Regions from separate parts of the Homo sapiens genome. Here regions 1 and 3 are each linked to region 2. The links are contacts of gene promoters, found by promoter capture Hi-C in blood cells and fetal thymus (Javierre and others, 2016). All regions are on one chromosome and are shown on one strand. Each heading gives the region's core, a stretch centred on a gene start or on the middle of the fragment in contact. The rest is flanking DNA. Distances are from core to core; before and after follow the strand shown.

Region 1 (4,102 bases), core at 1,550-4,049, 220 kb before region 2:
TGGTGAAGCAGGTGCCATCGGCCCACAGCCATCCCCCAGTGACCCACACACTTTGCACTAAGGGTCAGCACAAAGCATAACTCCCTCAAGTGTTGACTGATACACACAGTGGGATGAGTGCTGACTTAACTATGATTTCAACATGCTGCGGGATGAGTGCTGACTTAACTCTGATTTCAACATGCTACAGGGTCAGTGCTGACTTAACTCTCTGATTTCAACACACTGCGAGGCCAGTATGAACTTAACTCTGATTTCAACATGCTGCGGGACAAGTGCTGACTTAACTCTGATTTCAACACACTGTGGGATGAGTGCTGACTTAACTCTGATTTTAACATGCTGTGGGGTGAGTGCTGACTTAACTCCGATTTCAACATGCTGTGGGGTGAGTGCTGACTTAACTCTGATTTCAACACACTGTCGGGGGAGTGCTGACTTCTCTGATTTCAAAATACTGTGGGGCCAGTTCTGACTTAAGTCTCTGATTTCAACACGCTGTGAGGCCAGTGCTGACTTAACGCTCTGATTTCAACACCTGCAGGACAAGGGCTGACTTAACTCTGATTTCAACACTCTGCGGGACGAGTGCTGGAACTCTCTGATTTCAACATGCTGCAAGGCCAGTGCTGATCTAACTCCCTGATTTCAACATGCTGCGGGATGAGTGCTGACTTAACTCTGATTTCAACACACTGCAGGGCAGGTGCTGACTTAACTCTGTGATTTCAACACACTGCAGGGCAGGTGCTGACTTAACTCTGTGATTTCAACACACTGCAGGGCAGGTGCTGACTTAACTCTGATTTCAACACACTGCAGGGCAGGTGCTGACTTAACTCTGTGATTTCAACACACTGCAGGGCAGGTGCTGACTTAACTCTGTGATTTCAACACACTGCAGGGCAGGTGCTGACTTAACTCTGATTTCAACACACTGCAGGGCAGGTGCTGACTTAACTCTGTGATTTCAACACACTGCAGGGCAGGTGCTGACTTAACTCTGTGATTTCAACACACTGCAGGGCAGGTGTTGACTTAACTCTGTGATTTCAACACACTGTGGGGCCAGTGCTGACTTAACTCTGTGGTTTCAACACGCCATGGGGCCAGTGCTGACTTAACTCTGTGATTTCAACACACTGTGGGGGCCAGAGCTGACTTAACTCTGTGGTTTCAACACGCCATGGGGCCAGTGCTGACTTAACTCTGTGATTTCAACACACTGTGGGGCCAGTGCTGACTTAACTCTGTGGTTTCAACACGCCATGGGGCCAGTGCTGACTTAACTCTGTGATTTCAACACACTGTGGGGCCAGTGCTGACTTAACTCTGATTTCAACACACTGTGGGGCCAGTGCTGACTTAACTCTGATTTCAACATGCCACAGGGCTGGTGCTGACTTAACTCTGCTACACTCACTTGTGAATCAACTTGAATGATCTGGAATGTGTGCAACCTGTGCACTGTGACAAAAAATAGACTCACACAGCTGGAAGGACAGCTCAGTGCAGAGTGCACCTCAGAGCATTAGGTGTAAAAACTCTTACTTCAGAGAAATCATGTATGAAATGGAAAACAACCGGTCCATGTTAGGTTAAAGCATCACAGAACAGAAAATTAAACCTGATGAATGTCTGTCCCTAAATAACCTCAGGTTTAGACTTAAGAGAGAGAGCGTGTGTGAGCACAGGAGAGAAAAACCTTCACATCAACCCAGAAAGGCCGCTCAGTCTCTAGCTTGGGGGGAGACGGCCACACCTGGAGGGAGGGGAGGTGGTCATCAGGGGACGTCACCCATCAGTCTCTGTAAGCTTCTCAGTCTCAGTTTAGGGTAAACACCACACTTAACTCCAACATTTTTAAAGGCTGTTTTAAATCTCATTTTTGTCTAAAAATCAAAGTCTACAAGGGAGGAAGCCCACAGTCCAGAAGGTCCTCACTGAGAAGAACAGCTCCTGGCATCCTCACTCCCCAGGACTGGTTGCCTCTGGGCTTCTGGTGGCTTCTGCCATTCTCTGAACAAAATGCTTCCTTCTGTTTCTTGCCTGACCCATGGCAACGGGGCCCATTTTCCTGCCACGAGACACGGTTGTGCCCCCTGAATCTGGCAACAGATGAGCCTTGGGGCTGGCACTGCCTGCCTCCCTCTTTACCACACTGCAGGGCTGCGTCCGGTGAGAGGTGCATGCTCCACCCGGCCTAGGCCCGAAGTCTCAGCCCCCTGTATGGGTCAGCCTTTCCTGCATTTCTAACAAAATCCTCTCCAGAGCAAGCGAGAGAAACAAGGTGCCAACTCACAGTCTGGGAAGCTCAGACCCCACCCCTGAAGATCCTCGTGACCTAATGATGATTTATTATGAGATGCCCCAAACGCCTGAGAACCAGGAGAATTCAGGCTGAGCTTCCAGCAGCTTTCAGAAGGCAGCAGGTCTGGGACTGCCCAGGGCTTTGCAGTCCCTACAGGGTGGCAGGTGGGGGCTGCCGGGAAACACCCCGGCCTCTGACAGAGACTGGTGCCAGGCTCAGAGAACAAACTGTCAACTCCAGGAGGTTTTATCTGCTTCCCCCTTTTCCAGGAACTGAAACTGTTCCCAGTGTGATGAGCACAGGGGTGGGCATGGGGGTGGATGCAGGGGTGAGCACATGGTGGGCATGGGGTGGGCATGGGGGTGAGCACGGTAGGCATGGGATGGGTGCAGGGGTGAGCACACGGGCATGGGGGTGGGTGCAGGGGTGAGCACATGGTGGGCATGGGGTGGGCATGGGGGTGAGCACGGTAGGCATGGGATGGGTGCAGGGGTGAGCACACGGGCATGGGGGTGGGTGCAGGGGTGGGCACATGGGCACGGGAGTGGGCATGGGGGTGAGCACAGGTGGGCATGGGGGTGGGCATGGGGTGGGTGCAGAGGTGAGCACGGGCATGGGGGTGGGCAGGGGGGTGAGCACACGGTGGGCATGGGGTGGGTGCAGGGGTGGGCACATGGGCACGGGAGTGGGCATGGGGGTGAGCACAGGTGGGCATGGGGGTGGGCATGGGGTGGGTGCAGAGGTGAGCACGGGCATGGGGGTGGGCAAGGGGGTGAGCACACGGTGGGCATGGGGTGGGTGCAGGGGTGGGCACGGGTGCAGAGTGGAGCCACTCACCCAGGAGCAGCCAGCTGCTGGGTTGGGGCCAGGTCTGAGCACAGGGTGCCTGGTTAGTGATGGCAGAACCCCCAACCCTACCCCAGTGACCGCGGAGAGTCGGAGGCTCCAATATTTACAGATAAAATACAAAGCGTCAGCAAGAGAAAGAACCACGGAAGACGGTGCAGCCTAACTCCTGACTCAGGGGCTGTAGAGAAAGGAGAACCAGGGGGACAGGCAAGGAAGCTGGGCCCCGGCTGAACGCTCCAGGCTGAAAGGCTTCCTGAACCTTTCTCAACTGCTTTTTTTTTTTTTGGAGACAAGGTCCTGCTCTGTCACCCCAGCTGGAGTGCAGTGGCACAATCTTGGCTCACTGCAGCCTCAACCTTATGGGCTCAAGTGATCCTCCCACCTCAGCCTCCTGGGTAGCTGGACTATAGGCAGGTGCTACTATGCCCAGCTAATTTTCAAAAAAATTTTTTTTGTAGAGGTGGGGTCTCACTATGTTCCCCAGGCTGTTCTCAAACCCCTGGGCTCAAGCAGTCCTCCCACCTCAGCCTCCCAAAGTGCTGGGATTCCAGGGGTGAGCCACCACACACAGCCCTGATTCAAATTTCTTATGAGCAAAATGGGAGTCAAACAAGAAAAGCTTGTCTTGGCAGGCTGGACAGGCTGTGTGGCTGGGATGGGGCCCTCACGTCCCGCCCCACGTGTGGAAGCAGCTACAGACCAGAGACACACCCTGGATCCCCACCCCAGCATGACACCGACCCCAGGGACGCACGCCCTACCTTGTACGGGGAGATGTGCGTGTCGGGCGGGAAGGCCAGCATGCCCATGGCCTGGCGCACCTCGTCCAGCTGGCTCCCTTCTGCTTGGCTGAAGTGCTTTCTTGCATGTCTAAAAAACAACATTTTGGCACATTTAAGTTTGCGTTTTAATTTTAACTTTTAGAGACAGGGTTTCACTCTG
Region 2 (4,379 bases), core at 209-2,708:
CGTCAGGCTCACCACAGGCTCGATCTCCAGGGCCCAAGCAATCCTCCCACCTCAGCCTCCCGAGTAGCTGGGACCCCAGGGGCCCACCACCACACCCAGCTAATTTTTGTATTTTTTGTAGAGACGGGGTTTTGCCACGTTGCTGGTCTTGCTATTTTAAACTTGGTAGAGATCAGCACTGTCTAACAGAAATAAAAGTGGGCTACATACATAATTCTAATTTGCTGTTGTTGTTGTTGAGACGAAGTCTCACTCTGTTGCCCAGGCTGGAGTGCAGTGGTGTGATTTCGGCTCACTGCAACCTCCGCCTCGTTCAAGCGATTCTCCTGCCTCAGCCTCCGGAGTAGCTGGGATTACAGGCGTGAGCTACCGCACCCAGCCCATACGTAATTCTAAGTTTTCTAGTCTCCACATTGAAAAGGATTTTTTGAAAGGGTAAAATCAACGCTACTGATATATATTTAACCTAATATATCAAAAATATCATGTTAACATGTAATCAATATAAAATTACTAAGAAGGTTTTCATACGAGGCCCTGGAAACAGCTGTATTTTACTCACATCTTTCGGGGCGCAGGGGTCACTTGGCCCGTAGCTACCGGGAGCGCTCACCCTGCGCTCTCCCGGCACAAGCACTTGCCTGAGCCTCTCGATCCGAGCTTTGCAGCGTCCCAGCGGGTGGAAACTCTCAAAACCACGCAGAGGACAATTTTATAAAAAGTCACTTCCCCATGCTGGAACCTGGAAGCAGCAGAGGTCCTTCCCGAGCTACGCCTTCCGTTTCAGAGGGAAGCAGGCTCAGGCCTCCCGTGCTGAGGTCTCTGCGCCAGCGGCCACCTGGACACTAGTCCCAAAGCGTGCAGCGCGGCCTGGCCCCCACCCCCAACTGCCCCCCCCACCCCCACCGCCTCATCACACCCCACCCCCACCGCCTCACGCCCCCACACCCACCCCAACTCCCACATCCCCACTCCCGCTCCCACCCCAACTCCCACACCCACTTATCCCTCCCTCCCTCCTATCCCGCTCCCCGGGCCCCCAGGGCCCCCACGCCCACTCTCCCCTACTCCTCCCCTGCCTCGCCCAGCGCACTACCCTGGCCGCCCTGGCCTCCGGCCCAGCTCCCGGCCCTCAAGGTGGGCCTGGCCCGCATCCCCCGCCCTCGGCGCTCCCCCTCCCCCTCCCCCACTGCTGTCGCGCCGCGACGCCTCCTCAGCGCAGCCGCCATTCCCCGCGCCCGCCACCCAGGCCCGGCTTCCACAAAACACCTGAGGACCGCCAAGACAGGGGCGGGACGTTGGTGCTCGCGGTGCGTTCCTCCGCCTACTCCAGCCCAAACGACCTGGGAGACGAGTCACACGCGCCCTCCCAGGTGCTGCGGGAGAACCCGCGAGGTTGGCGGGAGGGCGCGAGCTCCAGTGCGCGGGCGCAGGGCTGCCGTCGACTTTGCGCAGGCGCAGAGCTGCCCGCCTTCGGGCCCTGCGCGGGGAGGCTGGTCCCAACCTTGCGTGGGCTTCGCGTGGGCCCGGCCTCGCCGCTGCGGTCGCCCGCCTGGCATGGCCAACTGGGTGTTCTGTAATCGCTGCTTCCAGCCGCCCCACAGGACGTCGTGCTTCAGCCTCACCAACTGCGGGCACGTGTACTGCGACGCCTGCCTCGGCAAAGGTCAGGGCTTCCCGAACGCAGGCTGGAGAGGGGAGGGGAGCGGCAAGGGGGTCAGGGAACTCCGGGGGATGGGGGACTTGGGTGGGAGGGCCATGGGGGCACGTGGGGGGCTGCGGAGGAGAGAGGGCGCGTGGAGAAGGGGGAGGGGGCAGGGGGAGGGGGATGCCAGGGGAGAGGCCGCGAGGAGCAGGGGAACTCTGAGGGGAGGGGGACCTGGGGTGGAGGGGCCGCGGGGGCGCGTGGGGGGCCGAGGGGGAGAAACGGCGCATGGAGCGGGGGGGGCATGGGGGGGTGAGAGGCCGCGGAGGTAGGGGTATTCGGAGGAGGGGCCACCGGGGAGTGGGGGCCGCGGGCGTGATGAGGGGCCCGTGGGGAGAGGGGGACACTGGAGAAGCGGTGGGGAGGGAGCGGGGGAGTGAGGGGCTGCGGGAGGGTGGGGAAAGAGGGGACGCCGGAGGTGGTGGGGGGCTGCAGGGAGGAAGGGGACGCCAGAGGAGGGGGGCAAGGTGGGGGATGTGGGGGGTCAAGGCTTGGGGGGGAAGGGGGATACCGAGGAGATGGGGGGAGGGGAGACGCCAGGGGAGGAGGGCGTGGGGGAGGGTCCGCAGGCAGGAAGGGGCCGTGGAGGGGAGGGGCCGCCGGGGGGAGCGGGATGCAAGATGAGGGGGACACAGGGGTCGGGCCACGAGTCCTGTCAGTCGGGGGCTCTGGCTTGCAGGCTGCGGGTCCGCCTGGAGGACCTGGGGGAGAAGCGGGCAGGCGGCAACCTTAACGCCAGTGGAGGACTCTGGCCCTATTCCATGGGCAGCGCGGGGCCCTGGTGTCAAGTGGACAGTCGCATTGTCAGGGAGGCGTTTTTCTTTCTGTGAAAATTTTGTGTTGAACTGATGTTTATGCAAGAACAAAAGCAAAAACACAGTGAGCTTTTACCAAGCGAACTTCCCCGTGAAAGCAGCCAGCTGGGTGCCGGTGGCTCACAGCCCTCCAGCCCCAGGGGACGCCAGCTGTGCTGACCTCCATCCTCGGAGTTGGCCTTAGACCCATGGAGCCTTAGTGAATGCAGCCCTACAACCAGCCCTACAGCAAAGCCGCTTTCTGTGGCTCCCCATCTTTCTTCCTTTTTCTCCCTTCCTTCTCTTTGCCTCTTTCAAGGCAGAGCTCAGCTTTGTCGCCCAGGCTGGAGTTCGGTGGCGGGATCTCGGTTTACTGCAGCCTCCGCCTCCCAGGCTCAAGTGATTCTCCTACCTCAGCCTCCAGGGTAGCGGGGCTACAGGCATGTGCAGCCACGCACCCCTGATTTTTTTAATTTTTCACAGAGATGGGGTCCCTTTGTTGCCCAGGATGGTCTCCAATTCCTGTCCTCTAACAATCACCGGCCTTGGCCTCCCGAAATGTGGGATTAGCAAAGTTTATCATTGTATTTGTATGTAACTGTAGTTCATCTACTTTCATTGTTGTGTGGTGTTCCATTGTATGGATACACCCCAAGTTACTCATCGTTTCCACTGTCCATGGCCCTTTGGGTTGTTTGCAGATTTGGCTGCAGAAATAATGCTACTGTGAATCTTCTTGCTCCTGTCTTCGGTGATCTTAGGTACACATTTCTGTTGGGTGTGTAACCTGGGAGTGGAGTTGTTGATTTCAGGTGTGTATTTAAAAACAAAAGTGTCTCGGGCAGCGAGGTGAAAAGTAGATTGGAGGGAGATAGAAACTGTGGGAGAGACTGCAGCTGAGCACATGAGAGGTGATGGGGAGAAGTGATAGGTTCAGGAGAAGTTAGGTAGATTCAGCAGACATGAGTCGGAGACAAGGGCTAGAGAACTGGACAGGGTTTCACTGCTAGACAAAACACTGGAGAGGAGCCCAGCGGGAGGGAACCCAGCAGGGTGGGGCACAGCAGGGTGGGGTGCAGGGCCCCTGAGCTCATGTCTGGACACGGCCTGTATCCTGTGAGAGCCATCCAGGGGAAGACAAGAGGCAGTTGCACATGTGGGTCTGGAACTCAAGACAGCCAGGAACACATTTGGGGAGCGATTAATACGGGATAATAATCCTATAATCCTAGATATTGGAGTGTGGAGAGCCCCAAAGGTGAAGGAAACTAGAAGAGACTATCTTGTTGGAAAGAGCATTTGTTGAAGGAGGTAAAGAAGATGTCAGGTAAAAAAGAGATGTTGATGAACTGGACATCCCAGTGAAGTCAAGGAATTGGTGTTTGAAAGTGTCCATTGGACCAGTGAGGAGGGCACTGGTGACCCAAGATAATGTTCCCCGAAGATAACATTGTTAGGAATGATGGAGACGCGTGTGCCTTCGTGGTGCTGGGAAGTGTGAAGACAGGGCTCAGAGCGTCATAGCTTTTGAGGTCAGCATACTCTGCGTTGGCAGGTGACTGGTTAAGGGCCTGGGGCAGGTATAGATTCACAGGTTTGCCTAGCTCTTAAAGCCTGAGGTCAACACAGATTCCAGTAGTCTGAGTGCATTCCTCCAAAAAGCCACAGATGCTGCATGTCGGGACCACACCAAATCCAAAGACACACAAAAAAGTGGTGAAAAGGGGTGGAGGCTCTGGGCAGAGCCTTGACTGTAGCTCTGTAGCTGTCCAGTGGTGTGTCACTCAGAGGGAAGCCCTTGTTTAGCTCTGGTGTATATCCTTCCAAGCATTTCCTATAGATGCAGATTTTTAAAACAAAAGCAATAGTGTGTCTACCAT
Region 3 (4,537 bases), core at 150-2,649, 240 kb before region 2:
TAACACCAAAGCCTCCCCTCACACGCAGCTCCACTGCCTGTGTCTCAGTCTCCTTGGCTGCAGCCATCCCATCTGGAGGGCGAGACCACCCACAGCCTCTTCTACTCACCGCCCCCACACGCCGGGCACAGAACCTTCCCCTCCACAGCCCACGCCACAGGATGGCGCCCCTCCAGCCCAGCCTCACCAGCCCCCACCCCCCCGGCCTCTCCTCCGCTGGACACCCCAACTCCAGTTCTGCCCTGCCGTGGCTTCCCCCGCTGTGGCACCCTCAGTGTCCGGCGCAGGGCAGAGCTCTATACAGGCGAGGACAGCCCAGGCTTGCAGCAGCGGTGTCCACCCCGCACAGGCCTGCAGCCTCACTGCTGAGGCACCTCTGGGCAGCTGAGACCCGAGGATCAGTTCTCCCAGCAGCTTCCCAGCCCGGCTGCCTCCTGGCCCTGGTGAAGGGACACCTGCTGTGCCTGCTTCCAAAGAAGAAGGTTCCTCAAAGAGAGCGATTTGAAGCCACACACATACGCAAAGGGCCCCAGCCTCCACTCACACCCCAGGGGGGCAGCAGGGGGCTTGGGAGGAAGCTGGGGCTGGGGGGCGGGGGCGGCTATGTCTCTGCAATCCTCACCCACCCAGGCTGCAGTGCCAAGGCTGCCCGTGGCCATTTCTGGAACACATTTTCCTCCCAGCAAGGGCCGGTGCTACCTGACCCCTCATGGCGACACGGGACCCTGACAGGCCTGTGAGCTGACGGGATGCCCACACAGCCTGCCCAGGGATCCAGTCACTTGGAGGTCAGGCCTGTGCTCCCTCATCCTTTGAGGACCGCAACAGCCTCACGACCCCACCTCACCCCAATCCTGTGGGTCCTTACTCTGCCCACAGCCTCACTGAGGTGGGGGCTGCCATGAGCTCTTAGAAGTGTCCCTGTGGCCACAGAGGCCTGGCATGGGTGGGGGGAGCCCAGTGCAGAGGCCACACAGAAAGGAAAAACCTGGTGGTGACCCCTGACCTAGCTCCCCAGGGGAGGCCCCTGCATCCCCAGGCTCCTGGGCCGGGTGCCAGTGAGGGAGGAGCCTACCCGGGAGCCGGGGCAGGGTGGCGCCACAGAGACCCCGCGAAGGCAGTTACCTGAGCAGAGCTCCACATCCAGCGTGTACTTGTGCGAGCCCAGCCCGTGGCTCCGCACAAACTCCTCGAGGTCGCTGTCCTCGTCCTCATCTGAGGGGTCACCTGTGGCTGTCTGGGATGGCTGTGCCCCGCCGCCCGCTCTGGGGTGGCCTGCAGAGGCAGGCAGGTCTCTACTGCAGCAGGGCTGCTCCCCGTCCCGGGGGTCAGGGGTGCCAGACCGGCAGGGGCCCACCTGGCCCGCGCAGGAGGAGCGAAGGGCATCGGACATGCCAGAAGCCATGCCAAGGGATTCCGTCTCCGGGTTCGGGTCAAAGTCAAAAGGCACCAGCAGCCTAAAGCAGCTCTCTACCTCCGTCAAGCAGGATTCAATTTCTCCAGACATTTCTGCCGGAAGATCAAGACACCTGTTTGCTGCGCTATGTGGAGCAAAAGCACCAGCCCACTCAAAACCACACTCAGAGGCCCACTCCCCGCAGGGTGTCACTTTTCAGCACCAGGTGGAATGCAGTGGTGCAATCACAGCTCACCCCAGCCTCGACCTTCCAGGCTCAGGTAGTGCAGCCGCCTCAGCCTCCTGATTAGCTGGGACTACAGACACGTGATGCCATGCTCAACTAACTTTTCTGTAGAAACAGGGTCCTGCTATGTTGCCCAGGCTGGCTTTAAACTCCTGGACTCAGGCGATCCGCCTGCCCTGGCCTCCCAAAGTGCCGGGATGACAGGCATGAGTCACCGCGCCCAGTCGTGTGCTGCACTTTTTAACCGCTTACTAGAGCACCCAGCTCAGCAGCTGGGCCTGCAAGGCAATCTCTGTGTACCTCTGGGTAGCAAGCACGAGTGCGCAGGGGAGGTCAGCCCACCTGCACTTCCCAGGACACGGCTGCACCTCTTCCCTAGGGCAACAAAACAGCCTCGTTCATGCCACACCTCCCGGGCCGGAGCAGCTTTCCTCCTGGCAGCCTCCTCATTGTCTGGGCACCCAGCTGCCTGCCTTGTGAGCTGCCCTGAGGCCTGCGTTTCCAGTGGCCTGTGGCAGGTCCCACACCTGGGACCACAGTCTGTCAGGAGAAGGATCTGGGGTACATGTAGTCTGAAGACACAGGGCCGTGCCTCCGCCCACATCAGGAGGTGTCTCAGGAGGGCCGTGGCACCCCCTCCTCACACTCTCGTGGTGCCCCTCACAAGAAAGGCTGACTGCCGAGAAGCAAACAGTGAAGTTTTGGGGAAGGGGCTGGCAAGGGCAAGACAGCCACAAAATAAACAGGTGGCAGGGCCTTCAGCCAGGCTGGGGCTCAGACCACTGCCCACAGGCACACCTGTGCCTGGCATCTCTGCCCAGAGGTCCGCGCAGCGAACGGGCGTGGATGAATGTGACCACCAGAGGGCGCGGGAGAGGCATGGACAGCCTGGGAGGCCTACGGCTAAGAACGCCTTCCGGCCCGACCTGAATCCTCTCCACCTAGCCTGTCTCAAAACCTGGGTTCCTTGCGGCTGGGGCCCTGGGACCAGGAGGATGAACTGCTGGACCACGGGCAACCCTCAGAGGCGTGGGCCCCTCCCTCCGTCCTGGACACTTGCCTTGCATCTCCCTCTCCGCCTGGCTGGCTCTTTCTTGATAAATTTTATCCAAGTGCTTCTGCTTCTCCTCTTCTCTCTTCCTTTCTGCCAGACTCCGAGCATTCGTGTCTTGAAAATCCACCTGAGCAATTGAAAATAAAGACTAGGGGACAGGCGCGGTGGCTCACGCCTGTAATCCCAGCACTTTGGGAGGCTGAGGCAGGCAGATCACGAGGTCAGGAGATCGAGACCATCCTGGCTAACACGGTGAAACCCCATCTCTACTAAAAATACAAAAAAAAAATTAGCCAGGCGAGGTGGCGGGCGCCTGTAGTCCCAGCTACTTGGGAGATTGAGGCAGGAGAATGGTGTGAACCCGGGAGGCGGAGCTTGCAGTGAGCCAAGATCGCACCACTGCACTCCAGCCTGGGCGACAGAGCGAGACTCTGTCTCAAAGAAAAAAAAAAAAAGAAAGAAAATAAAGACTAGGGCTGGCCCAGCACAGTGGCTCATGCCTGTCACCCCAGCACTTTGGGAGGCCGAAGCAGGTGGGTCACAAGGTCAGGAGATTGAGACCATCCTGGCTAACACGGTGAAATCCCATCTCTACTAAAAATACAAAAATTAGCCGGGCGTGGTGGGGGGTGCTTGTAGTCCCAGCTACTTGGGAGGCTGAGGCAGGAGAATGGCGTGAACCCGGGAGGTGGAGCTTGCAGTGAGCTGAGATCGCACCACTGCACTCCAACCTGGGCAACAAAGCAATACTCCATCTTAAAAACAAAAAATAGCCAGGTGTGGTGGCGTGTGCCTGTAGTCCCAGCTACTTGGGAGGCTGAGGCAGGAGGATCACTTGGACCAGGGAGGCGGAGGTTGCAGTGAGCCGAGATCGCGCCACTGCACTCTAGCCTGGGTGACAAACCAAGACCCTGTCTCAAAAACAACATCATCAACAACAACAACAAAAACTAGAGCTATCTATACAGAATGTGAGGAAGATAAAGCTCAAGTAGGCCTAACAAAAGACAGCACCCATGCGTGGCCAAGAGCCCTATGCGTCTGTAAGTTCACAGTAGTTTTTTTTTTTTTTTTTAAGAGACAACGGTCTTGCTGTGTTACCAAGGCTGGACTCAAACTCCCAGGACCAGGTGATCCACCAGCCTCGGCTTCCAGAGTCAGTGGGACTGTGGGTGTGCACCCTCACACCCAGGTGTTCACAGTGCATTACAACAAAACACAATGCACGTCTCTCTGCTGTCTGAGCCCGGGAAAGCCAGCACGTCTGCTAACTTAAAAGAGGTGACGAGACTTCTCACCCCAAGTACCTCACAGGTAGGAGAGCAGTGTGCTTGTTCCATTAGCAGGCAGAGGCTGCTGACTGGACCCAGGAGTCTGAAACAAACCCTGAGCATGAACCCTGGGAGACAGGGCACTCCAAGGGCACACAGGGAAGCCAGCAGGGCTGGGTCATTGCACTGGGGAGGACTGAGCCTTCGTGGCAGGTGGGGTAAGGGGCACGGTAGGGTCTGGGCAATGAGGCTGGGTTCAGGCCACAGTGGCAGATCCTGGTGGGTTTCATCATGCCAGGCACCAGCCCGAGCCCATAGTAGGGTGCGGGTGGAGCCTTAAAGTGCAAGGTTGGGACAGGTCCCAGAGTCCAGGGGCCACTGTCACAGAAAACGTTGCATCTGAAAAGTTGGATTTGGCTTTTCCTTTGTCTCCTACACGCACATAAAAAATGACACATGCAGCCTCAGCTCCACCCACACATAAAGCTTATGCTCTTCCTCTCAGAGCTGCGCCGCCCCTCTCAGGGAGGCCGTGACCCTAGATGCTGCCCTCTTTCCCACACCCCACA

The links. The method cuts DNA at HindIII sites, captures the fragments that hold promoters and counts their contacts. A CHiCAGO score of 5 or more calls a contact.
Region 1: a contact is called between a fragment that was not itself captured here and the fragment with the promoter of RNF212 in region 2, in 1 of 17 cell types (naive B cells). The highest score is 7.4, in naive B cells.
Region 3: a fragment that was not itself captured here is called in contact with the fragment with the promoter of RNF212 in region 2 in 7 of 17 cell types (naive B cells, total B cells, total CD8 T cells and 4 more); the score reaches 11.0 in naive B cells.

What each region holds. Positions count from the first base shown.
Region 1 is chr4:1,332,685-1,336,786 of GRCh38, reverse strand. It overlaps MAEA (macrophage erythroblast attacher, E3 ubiquitin ligase), which reads right to left. Exons shown (of 9, transcript NM_001017405.3): 6 at 3,922-4,030. Among named protein-coding and RNA genes, the nearest start is that of UVSSA, 12 kb to the left of the region's middle. The HindIII fragment of the contact is 1,964 bases long and covers 1,818-3,781 here.
Region 2 is chr4:1,110,643-1,115,021 of GRCh38, reverse strand. It overlaps RNF212 (ring finger protein 212), which reads left to right and starts at 1,458. Exons shown (of 10, transcript NM_001131034.4): 1 at 1,458-1,666. The coding sequence starts at 1,558. LOC124900647 (nascent polypeptide-associated complex subunit alpha, muscle-specific form-like) reads right to left here and starts at 1,383. Exons shown (of 3, transcript XM_047416477.1): 1 at 1,270-1,383. It overlaps LOC105374344 (a long non-coding RNA gene), which reads right to left and starts at 1,383. Exons shown (of 3, transcript NR_134676.1): 1 at 1,270-1,383. The HindIII fragment of the contact is 6,439 bases long and covers 1-4,379 here.
Region 3 is chr4:1,350,002-1,354,538 of GRCh38, reverse strand. It overlaps UVSSA (UV stimulated scaffold protein A), which reads right to left. Exons shown (of 14, transcript NM_020894.4): 4 at 2,704-2,824; 5 at 1,126-1,509. Among named protein-coding and RNA genes, the nearest start is that of UVSSA, 5.1 kb to the right of the region's middle. RefSeq lists a silencer at 3,420-3,588. The HindIII fragment of the contact is 6,115 bases long and covers 1-4,456 here.